2 separate regions of the Homo sapiens genome follow, and region 1 is linked to region 2. The links are contacts of gene promoters, found by promoter capture Hi-C in human tissues and cell types (Jung and others, 2019). All regions are on one chromosome and are shown on one strand. Each heading gives the region's core, a stretch centred on a gene start or on the middle of the fragment in contact. The rest is flanking DNA. Distances are from core to core; before and after follow the strand shown. Region 1 overlaps SV2B (synaptic vesicle glycoprotein 2B). Region 2 holds the start of VPS33B (VPS33B late endosome and lysosome associated).

Region 1 (5,996 bases), core at 3,223-5,722, 270 kb after region 2:
GTTCATCAGCAAGGATTGGCACTAGTCTTGCAGCCCCAGGTCTGAGGGTGACACTCCGGGCTGAGGACCGTCCCTGGGGAGGTGTTTCTTATTGAGGCCAGGTCAGCCTCTGGCTTCTTGACAACTGGAAAACCTTCCTCCTGCAGGGTCCTGGTGCCTGGTGGGGCACTCGTGCCCTGTGTCCCGGTTGGTTGTTTGAGACCTGCTTCCTTCCCACCTTTCTGCTCACCCTATTTCCACCTCATTGCCAGTCACTTTTCTAGTCTGCAACCTGTTTTGCCATGTTCTGCATCCACCTTGGACTTGGAGCTTGCATCTCAAGGTCCTCCGGGCTGAACTTACTGGAATTGGGCAGCATTTGACAGTCTTCTTTGGATGGGATCTCCTATCAGCTCTATAAGGGCTGTGCTGCTCATTTTCTGTTCACTCCCATCCCCACCCCAGAGTTCTGAGCTGGACTTCTCCGCCCTGCTGGGAGCCCTGCGAGGCTAACCTCATGGACTGCATACTTAGATTCCTGGAGGGGAAAAGGGATTCACCCCAGATAGTTCTAGTGAGGAAACTTTACTCATAGAGCTTTTAGAGGTGTGGAAAGGGTTATGGAAACAAATAAGGCAGGTGAGGCACCCAGACACTAGCAAAAGTGAGAAGCAGTCACCACCTCTATGGCTGTGAGGACAAGGGGGGATAATTGCACTCACAGAGCTCCATGGGGGCTGGAGCCGTGGAGCAAGAGCTACCTGGGAGGAACTGGGGTCTTGGAGGGATGCAGACATTGCCAGAAAAGGCCTTCTACCCCCGGGGAGGAGTTGGGGAGGGGTACTCCAGCCACCTTCCCCTCCCAACTGATAAGAAAGTCCATGGGGTTAGCGTGTAGAGGGTATGTACAGAGCACATGTACAGAGGATAGCGCAGGGCTGAGAAGGGCAAGTCAGATCTCTGGGGTGGGGATTCGGGTAAATGGGGAATAGCACCGCCTTTCTTCAGGTTTCCCTTCAATAGCCCATGTACAGGTGTGTTCTCACCAGGTTATAAGCTCCATGAGAATGGATTTTTTTAAAAAATTATTTTTTTATTTTTAATGGATAAATTATAATTGTATATTTTGATGGGGTACAATGTGATATTTTCATGCATATATACGATGTGGAATGATTAAGTCAAGCTAATTAACATATCCATCACCACACATATATATGTTTTGTGGTGAGAATATTTGAAATTTACTCTCTTAGCAATTTTGAAATATACAATACATTGTTAGTAACTGTAGTCACCGTGCTGTGTAGTAGATCTCGAAAAGTGAGATGATGCAGATGTTTCTGTGCCTGGTTTACCCCATGGACTGTATCTAGCATCCTGCCTTCCAGGTTCATCCATGTTGTCATAAATGGCAGAATTCCTTTCTTTTCTTCTCCTTCCTCTCTCTCTCTTTCTCTCTTCTTTCTTTCTCTCTCTCTCTCTCCTTCCTTCCTTCCTTCTTTTTCTCTTTCTTCTTTTTTTGACAGTGTCTTGCTCTGTCACCCAGGCTGGAGTACAGTGGCGCCATCTCGGCTCACTGCAACCTCTGCCTCCCAGCTTCAAATAATTCTCGTGCCTCAGCCTCCCAAGTAGCTGGGATTACAGGTGTGCACCACCGGGTCTGGCTACTTTTTGTCTTTTTCGTAGAGACAGTGTTTTATCATGTTGGTCAGGCTGGTCTCGAACTCCTGACCTCAAGTGATCCACCCACCTTGGCCTCCCAAAGTGCTGGGATTATAGGCCAGAATTCCTTTCTTTTTAATGTCTGAGTAGTATCCCATTGTGTATGTAAACCACATTTTCTTTATCCACTCATCTGTTGATGGCCACTTAGGTTGACTCCATATTTTGACTATTGTGAATATTGCTACATTGAACAAGAAGCACAGATCTCTTTGACATCCTGGTTTCAAATCAAGACTGAGGTTTTTGTTTTTGTTTTTTGGCCAATACTGATGTAGCTCAAGCACCTAGAACAATGTCTGGTACATAATAGATTCTCAACAAATGCCCCTATCTGCCCCGTCCCGTCACTCTGAGCTGGGCACCACCTTAGAGTGGTGACTTCAGAATCCTTCCTAAGTCTGGTGATCTGACCCACGCAGAGGGCTCTAATGCCATGTCTGGGGTGCCTTGTGAGGATTCCAGCTGTGCTCTCTCTGTGTGGAGGGTGAACCTAATACTTCAGGCAGCCTTGGCTTCAGGTGTACCAGTGAGGGTGGGAGATGGGGCAAGAACTGTGAGTGACAGCCATGTGCAAGACACAGGCCTCATGTTTCTTTTTGCCCTTGAACTCCCTCTGCAGGTGGCTCCATGCTAATCTCTGCAGTCTGCTGCTTCTTCCTGTTTTTTGGCAACAGTGAGTCTGCAATGATCGGCTGGCAGTGCCTGTTCTGTGGGACAAGCATTGCAGCCTGGAATGCTCTGGATGTGATCACAGTGGAGCTGTATCCCACCAACCAGAGGTCAGTTCTTCCCCAGGCTTTCCTCAGGGACTTGTTTGGGCTTCTTTGGCCAGAAGTCTACCTGCTCCCTAAATCTCATGCTGTGCATGGCCATCGTGGTCTTTCTGCTGTTCCGTGAAACAAACATCTTTTATGTTGAGCTTCTCCTGCATGGTGGATGGCATAGACCTGAAAGTTGGCAGGCTAGGGCTTGGATAGGGTGGGAAAGATGGCAAGAAGCAAAGGATGGGAGCAAACTATGTCCAGGAGAAGGAAATAAGAGTGAAAAGTTGGTAAAACCATATGTGTCATGTAATCCACAAGAGAGAACAGACCTTCAAGGGGAGATAAGGCAAAAAAGTGAAGAGCTGGAATAGCACAGGGTGGGGGCAAGGAGAGAAATAAAGGTCGGGAGGCAGCATGAAGTCCAGGGAATCTGCAGAGAATGTGGCAGGGAGGCCCAGGGGTTACTTTTATTTTGCACAGGTCGTATATGGGAAGAGGCCTTGTTTAAAGGCATAGGATCAAGGCCATTACTTAGTAATTGTTTTTCTTCGTGGAGGGGAATTGTAAAGTTTAAAGGAGAAGATAAGAGGCCCTGTGGTCAAAAAGGAATGTGAAGAGGTAAGGAAGGTGGGTAAATGAAATTCTGCAAAAACCTTAATGATATTTCCAAAATTGGCGACAGAGGTATTGGGATATAGATAACTAAGGAAGAGCACAACGTGTCATATTTGGAGCCCCTCTCATTTGAATCAAAGAACTGCTAAGTTTTACACAAAATAACAGGAGGACAAATGATTATTATTTGAATATGATGTGATTTTACATCTAGGAATCCTAAGAGAATTAACTTATGAGACCACTATAGACAAAAAGACAATGTGGTCAGGTGGTCAGTAATAAAACGAAATTATGTATAGGTTTTAAAATATATCGAAAAAGTTAAAGATGCAATTGATATCCATTTAATAATGGCAGACGTCATAAAATAATTAGGGATCAACTTGACAAGTGAAACACTCAAATGAAGAAAACCATAAAGCTTTACTAAGAGATATAAAAAAAGACACATAAGAGAAGATAAATATATGCCAACTCAGTGATTTGGGAGGCCGAGGCAAAAGGATTGCTTGAAGGCTGGAGTTCAAGATCAGCCTGGGCAATACAGTGAGACCCCTATCTCTACAGAATATATTAGACAATTAGCCAGGCATAGTGGCATGTGCCTGTAGTCCTAGCTGCTCAGGAGGCTGAGGGGGAGAGCTGCGAGAGCCCCGGGGTTTCAGGGTTACAGTGAGCTAGGATCACAACACTGCACACCAACCTGGGTGACAGAGACAGACCCTGTCTCAGAAAATGTATATATTTATGGATTATATATTTATATATAATTATGATAATACATATAATTAATAACATATAATTAGTATACATTATTATATATAAATATATATATTTAAAAGACAAGATATACCTAATTTTGGATAAGAAGATTCAATCTTACAAAAACGTCAATTTTTATTTAGTTTTTTTTCTAACATAAAATAATTCATTCAAAATTCAACAAGTTTTTTTTCCCCTCTGGGAACTTGAAAAAAGTTTATTTAAAAAAGGACATATGTTAAAAGATCCAAGAAAATACAAAAACAAAGATACTAAGACAAACAAAAAAGACTGGGTTGATGAATATAAAGCTACAGTGTGGTACAGTTATAGACAAAAATGAAAGAAGAGTTTTAAGAACAAAAATATACCCACACTCTTAATAAACTTGTGGTATGAGAAAGAAACGCTTTATTTCAGTTGGGGAGAGGTAGCATTGGGAATATTGCCTCTGCATACAGATGGGGTCATGAAAGAATAAATGATTAGTAATAGTTCTCACTGGAAAGTGTGATTGAAAGATCATAATTAGGATTAGGTTTTGCTGTTGCTGACAGCAACCTCAGGTAACTGTGGTCTTAAGAAGGTTAAGCATTGCATTTTTCTTTCCTGAAAAAGTCTAGAGTGGGTGGTGCAGGCTCTTTCTATCTCATTGTTTTTCCTTGCATGGACTCATCATGGTCCAAAATGAAACCATCTGTGTTCCATCATGAAGCAGGATAGAAGGAAAAGAATGAAGGGGAACAGAGCAAAAGGCCCACCCGCAACGTCTCTTACGGAAGCTTCTTGGGAACTGCTGCCACTTGCACTTACATCCCATTGGCCAAAACTAAGTCACATGGCCATGCTCAGCAGCAAATCAGTCTGGGAAATGTAGTCCTACATTTGGGGAAATGCTGTTTGTGGGCAACTGGCAGTCTCTGCTTCAGGAGGGTTGAGAGTGTTAAAAGGGGGAACACTTACACTTTCTGCTTTGTATACTTCTTCATCCTTTCAAGATTTCCATAGTAAGCATGTAGTACCTATAAAAATGTTTTAAATAGATATCTTTGAAAAAAAAACAAAAAAGAAAAACACTTGAAGAAAATACTTCAAAATGTTAATAGAGGTGATTGTGTCTCGGTGAAGAGGTTAGATATCCATGCATCTTTATATTATTCTGTATTTCCAAATTTGACTACAATGAGAATGTGTTATTTTTATATTTAGGAAAAAAAACTCCCTTGCACCCTCTTCCCCCTGCAATAAGGAAAAGAAAGAGCCCAGTCCTGTTCATCTAATGTGGTTCAGAATGTCAGAATTATTTCCATTCCTCTTTTACAGAGCAACAGCCTTCGGCATTCTCAATGGATTATGCAAATTTGGCGCCATCCTGGGAAACACCATCTTTGCTTCTTTTGTTGGGATAACCAAAGTGGTCCCCATCCTTCTGGCTGCTGCTTCTCTGGTTGGGGGTGGCCTGATTGCCCTTCGACTGCCAGAGACTCGAGAACAGGTCCTGATGTGAACAACCTATGGGAAAAGGAAAGGTCGAGAGAATCTTGTCCAGGACACTGAAATGCATCCACACTTCCTGCCTATCACGGTCCGGAGGACACCTTGGATAGCACGGGAGGAGAAGTTGACTTTGTGACCCCTAGTTTAGGACCCACTTCAGCTGTCAATATGTTTGTAACTCAGGTGACTGATTTGGGGGTGCCCTGAGCCACCCTTAGAATCACAGAGCTGCGTGTTTAACTTCAAGTCTTCCCAGTCCAAGGCAGGGAGAGGATTCTCCAGTGAGTGCACACACTATGCGAGGAGCAAGCATTTCTCTAAGTCAAGTGCAAGGACTTAACTTGCGTTTGAAAAGGAATTAGAGGGTCAGAAACACCCAGGTTCCTCCAGAAAGCTCCTTGGAGCCCAACAACTTAACAAATCAACTTGGCTGGAAGTTAGAGTCATTATATGAAGATTGGGCTTGAAGTATATATTTTTGCATTTAAAAGTATCACCTATCATATTTTCCACTCGAAAATTGACATAGTAGCATTGAGGATACTCTGATCTAGAAAGCCAAGTATTTGAGCAACATCTATAGAGATCTACTTTTCTCCTATGTCTCCTAGGCTTTCCATGATAATTAGGTAATACATTTAAGAAGGA
Region 2 (5,494 bases), core at 621-3,120:
TACAAACATTAGCCAGGTGGGCTAGCGTGCGCCTGTAATCCCAACTACTGGGGAGGCTGAGGCAGAAGAATCGCCTGAACCCGGGAGGTGGAGGTTGCAGTTAGCCAAGATCGCGCCACTGCACTCCAGCCTGGGCAACGGAGTGAGACTGTGTCTCAAAAAAATAAATAAAATAAAATAGAAATAAAATCTGGTCTAAGATGCCCTGCAGTTCTCATCTTGATCCATCTTCCTTCCAGTCCTCACAATGCAGCTGCAGTTCTACATTTCTATCTGCTGGATGTTACAAGCTATATTTCTTACGGGCATCTTAACTTCCCCCATCCAAACCCAAACAAATCAACTTCCCCCATCAAACCTGTTCCTTTTTCTAATTATTTTTCTCATTTCTATTCAATGTTAATACAACAAATATTTATTAAGCACATGGTGTGTGCTTGACTCTAAGCTAGGTACTCACTAGGTAGTGTTGAACAAAACAAACATGATCCCTGCCCACCTTCCAGTCTAATGAGGAATACAGACATAAAATGAATAACTAAATGATTACACAAGTAATCCATTAAAATCACAGTGGCAGTATTATTTTCCTAATAACCCAGGTTAAAAATCTCACTCATTTTTGCTTCTCCTTCAACATTTATAACCAATCAGTAAGTCTTTGAGTTTTCTTTCACCATAACTTAAAAATCCATCACTTTCCTTCATTCCCACTGCTACCAATTTTGTGTGGGCCTTTATTTCTTGTCTGATCTACGGTCTCCTAACTGGCCTTCTTGTTGCCCATTTACGCCACCACACACATCACTATTAGAATCATCAAGTATTGTCTCATGCCACAAATGGAAAAAAAATTTTTTTCAGTGGCTACTGTGTAACTGCTGATGGGTGTCTTCCCTTACATGCCTTGTCTTTCCCTGGTTTGCCAACTTTGCTCCTACCAATCTATCTGCCTGGAGCATGCTTAGTCTCCAAAGAAAATATGCTTATTACTCACACTCACTTCCTTGAAGCTCCTAGATCATCACCCCAACTAGAAATGATCACTTACTGTGAACTCTTCGGGTACACTAGCTCTATCACTCATTTACCACCTGTGTGTGATAATTTGTGCTTCATACAGCTCCTACTGGAGTGGTAAGATCCCTAATGGCAAAGATGTCTTAACCATCTTTCCGTCCCTAGGGATGCCTGGCACTAATGGTGTCTCCCTTGCCTGTATGCGGGGTTGGGGGGTGATTTCCATTAACTCTCTGGCCAGGTTCCAAACAGCTCTTACTACTCCCTGGATTCATTCTGGACCTGCTGGGGAAGCGCCAAGGACAATACCAGGGGCCAAGAACAAGATCAAAGGGGCACGGCAAGGAAGAAATGTGCATCCAATGAGTGCTAAACTGTAGATGCGATAAAGGCGTCAGGCAAGCACTGACCTGCTCCAGCAGATAGATGAGCTGGTCTCGAGCCAGCCTCTTCAGCATGGAGAAGTCAGGCAGCTCAGGGGCGTCCGGCCGATGGGGAAAAGCCATGGCAGCGGTCACCTGCGCCGCGGGGTGGAAGGACGCCCTTCGTTCTGAGAAGGCCGGCCGCAGCCCAGGGAAGCGCAAGGGGGGCTATCCTTCAGGCCTGGGCACCGACTTCCAGAGACCCCAGATGGGCCCTCGCTCCTCAGCAGCACTCCAGGAATGAATGGCCACCTCCAGGCAAGAGAGCTACTACCTCGGAGCAGCCTTGTCTCAGACCTGCAGCCACCGTGTCTCGACCCTCCCTCCCTGATCCACTCTGCCCGTCAGCAGGATTCCGGTCTACACCCCGCAGAGACTCCGCAGCGTACGAGGAGAACCCCGCCTTCTACCAGAAAAAGAAGCGACTTCCTAGATCTCCCGGAAGTCCCTTTCGCTCCCAGCGCTTCGCGTACCAGGAAGGGGACGGCGTCCTGAAAGGGACATTTGAAAAACGGAGGCAACGCGTCTATTAATTAGGTGGCGGCGCCTGGGGTCGCAGCACTCCAGAGGCTGAGGTGGGAGAATCGCTCGAGTCAGGGAGGCGGAGGTTGCAGTGAACTGCGATCGCGCTACTGCACCCCAGCCTGGGCAACAAAGCTAGACCTTGCCTCAAAAAAAAAAAAAAAAAAAAAAAAAAAGACATAATGAATGCATCAGGCTAGCTAACAATACCTCAACTCTGATCAATCATACCATCATATCATTTCCTGGTGAGATGCATAGGAAATACAGAGCATCACCTATTGCCAAAAATTGAACCTAATCAAGCCTCAAGATCTAACTACCAGTTTATAGGCTATATAGAGATTAGCAGGAATATGTTAAGACACCAAAGGTATGAAATCAACCATATCCAAAATGTAGGAAATTATATGGGACAAATGATCTGTCGTCTTCAAAAAAATGGCAAAGTGGGAAATGTGGGAGGGGAAAACACTTCAGAATAAAAGAGATTTAAGAGATGTATCAACAAAATGTTTCAATGTGTGGATCTTTTTTGGATAATAATTCAAAGATAACTGATTTAAGGAATTACTAAAACTTTTCGGGTATTGTATTTCTTTTCTTCTCTTTTTTTTCCTGACAGAGTCTCGCCCTTTTGCCTAGTGGAGGAGCTCGGCTCACTGCAAGCTCCGCGCCACAACCCCCCTGCCGCCCCAGGTTCAAGAGATTCTCCTGCCTCAGTCTCCCGAGTAGACTGGGATTACAGGCGAGTGCCACCATGCCCGGCTAATTTTTGTATTTTTGGTAGAGACGGGGTTTCATTATGTTGGCCAGGCTGATCTCGAACTCCTGACCTCAAGTGATCCGCCTGCCTTGGCCTCCCAAAGTGCTGGGATTACAGGCGTGAGCCACAACGTTGGGCCAGGTATTGTATTTCTATGTTATTATTATTTTTTGTATTTCTATGTCATACAGGCTTGTATTTCTGTTAAAAACAAGTCCTTATCTCTTTGAGATACATACTGAAGTTTTTACAGGTGAAATAATTTGGCCAGGAGTAATGGTTCATGTCTCTAATTCCCACCACTTTGGGAGGTCCAGGTCGGGGTCGGGGGGTTGCTTGAGGCCAGGAGTTTGAGATAAGATTGGTCAACTACAACACATAAAAAATAGCCAGGCATGGTGGTGGGCACCTTTAATCTCGATACTTGGGAGGCTGAGGCAGGAGGATCACTTGAGCCCAGGAGTTTGAGGCTGCAGTGCGCTACGATCATGCTACAGCACCCCAGCCTGGGCAACAGAGTGAGACACCGTTTGTTTTTTCTTTTCTTTTTTTTTTTTTGAGACAAGGTCTGGCTTTATCTATCACCCAGGCTGGAGTGCAGTGATATGTTCTGTCTCTTTTTTTTTTGAGATGGAGTTTCGCTCTTGTTGCTCAGGCTGGAGTGCAATGGCACGATCTCAGCTCACTGCAACCTCCACCTCCCAGGTTCAAGCGTTTCTCCTGCTGCAGCCTCCTGAGTAGCTGGGATTACAGGCATGTGCCACGCACCCAGCTAATTTTGTATTTTTAGTAGAGACAGAGTTTCTCCATGTTGGTCAGGCTGGTCTTGAACTCCTGACCTCAGGTGATCTTCCCGCCTCAGTCTCCCAAAATGCTGGGATTGTAGGCATGAGCCGCCATGCCTGGCCCGATCTGTCTCTTAAAAAATAAAAAAAAAAACTAAAATATGTTTGGGATTTGCTTTAAAATAACCCAGGGGGAGATGTAGGAACATTCAGGAAAAAGATTGGGCCAGGCACGGTGGCTCACGCCTGTGAACCCAGACCGAGGCAGGTGGATTGCTTGAGCCCAGGAGTTCAAGACCAGCCTAGGCAACACAGTAAGACCCCCATGTCTATAAAAAAATTAAAAAATGATTGGCCATTTGTTAATTGTTAAAGCTGATGGGTACATGGGGGTTTATTGCATTTTAGTATTCTACGTCTTTATTTAGAGATGGAGTGTTGCTCTGTTGCCCAGGTTGGAGTGCAGAGGTATAGTCATAGCTCACAGCAGCTTTGAGCTCCTGGGCTCAAGTGATCCTCCCACCTCAGCCCCCCAGATAGCTGGAATACAGGCACATGCCACTTTGCTGAACTTCTCCCTACGTTTCTATGTTTGAAAAGCTGTATAATACAAGGTTAAGCAAAAAACAAAAAACACGCTATGCTCACACTGGACTTTGAGAGCTCATATGGTATTTTATGCTGAGCCTTTCTTCCCACTAACGCCCTTAGATTGAATCTTGGCTGCAGTGGGAGATGGAGGTTGCCCTAAAGTGGTGGGATTTACTCCCACTGCTGCTTAAAGAAGATGAGTGAGGCATTACATTACACTCCTTCTTTTCCCCCCCGGAATCTCACTCTGTTGCCCAGGCTGAAGGGCAGTGGTGCTGTCTTGGCTAACTGCAACCTCCGCCTCCCAGGCTCATGCGATTCTCCTGCCTCAGACTCTGGAGCAGCTGGAGTTACAGGCATGCGCCAGCACTCCCAGCTAATTTTTGTAGTTTTGGTAGAGATGAGGTTTCTCCATGTTGGCCAGGCTGGTCTCGAATCCTGACCTCAGGTGATCCACCTGCCTCAGCCTCCCAAAGTGCTGGGCTTACAGGCGTGAGCCACCGCGCCCAGCCTTATTTTTATTTTTATCCCATGACTTTTTTTATCCCATAACTTTTTCTTCCTAAGTTTTTTCCATAACTTTTTTTTTTTTTTTGAGATGGAGTCTTGCTCTGTCACCCAGGCTGGAGTGCAATGGTGCATCTGGGCTCACTACAACCTCCACCTCCCGGGTTCAAGCAATTCTGCTGCCTCAGCCTCCTGAGTAGCTGGGACTACAGGCACGCACCACCATGCCCAGCTAATTTTTTGTATTTTTAGTAGAGACAGGGTTTTGCCATGTTGGCCAGGCTGGTTTCGAACTCCTGACCTCAGGTGATCCGCTCACCTCGGCCTCCCAAAATTCTGGGCTTACAGGAGCGAGCCACCACGCCGGGCCTAGTTCCCTGCTTTTGGATGACAGTAATCTTCATCTCATCTGCACCTGTTTCCCCCATTGGACACTTCCCCAGGTTTTGCTGACAGTGGCCTGCTTTTATTTAATTTTTATCACATGACTTTTTTTTTAATCCCATAGCTTTTCATAAAACTTTTTTTGGAATAATTTTTTTTCATAACTTTTTCCACAACTTTTTTCCCACAATTTTTTTCCTCAGTCTTTTTTCATAACATTTTTTATCCCATAATGTAACTTTTTAAAAATCCCATAACTTTTTAATCTCATAACTTTTTTTTTTTTTTTTTTTTTTTTTGAGACGGAGTCTGACTCTGTTGCCGAGGCTGGAGTGCAGTGGTGCGATATCGGGTCACTGCAACCTCCACCTTCTGGGTTCCAGCAGTTCTCCTGCCTGAACCTCCCAAGTAGCTGGGACTACAGGGGTGTGCCACCATGCCTGGCTAATTTTTTATATTTTTAGCAGAGACGGGTTTCACTGTGTTAGCCAGGATGG

What was found. Contacts are between HindIII fragments. The study calls those that stand out against the background at their distance.
Region 1: a fragment that was not itself captured here is called in contact with the fragment with the promoter of VPS33B in region 2 in 1 of the 25 tissues and cell types used here (liver).

Annotation. Positions count from the first base shown.
Region 1 is chr15:91,287,195-91,293,190 of GRCh38, forward strand. SV2B (synaptic vesicle glycoprotein 2B) reads left to right here. Exons shown (of 13, transcript NM_001323032.3): 12 at 2,327-2,486; 13 at 5,175-5,996. The coding sequence ends at 5,358. Among named protein-coding and RNA genes, the nearest start is that of CRAT37, 170 kb to the right of the region's middle. RefSeq lists an enhancer at 4,525-4,819. The HindIII fragment of the contact is 6,522 bases long and covers 1,212-5,996 here.
Region 2 is chr15:91,020,724-91,026,217 of GRCh38, forward strand. VPS33B (VPS33B late endosome and lysosome associated) reads right to left here and starts at 1,871. Exons shown (of 23, transcript NM_018668.5): 1 at 1,431-1,871. The coding sequence starts at 1,526. It overlaps VPS33B-DT (VPS33B divergent transcript), which reads left to right and starts at 1,899. Exons shown (of 4, transcript NR_110104.1): 1 at 1,899-2,017; 2 at 2,590-3,248. RefSeq lists enhancers at 955-1,571, 1,426-1,835. The HindIII fragment of the contact is 30,515 bases long and covers 1-5,494 here.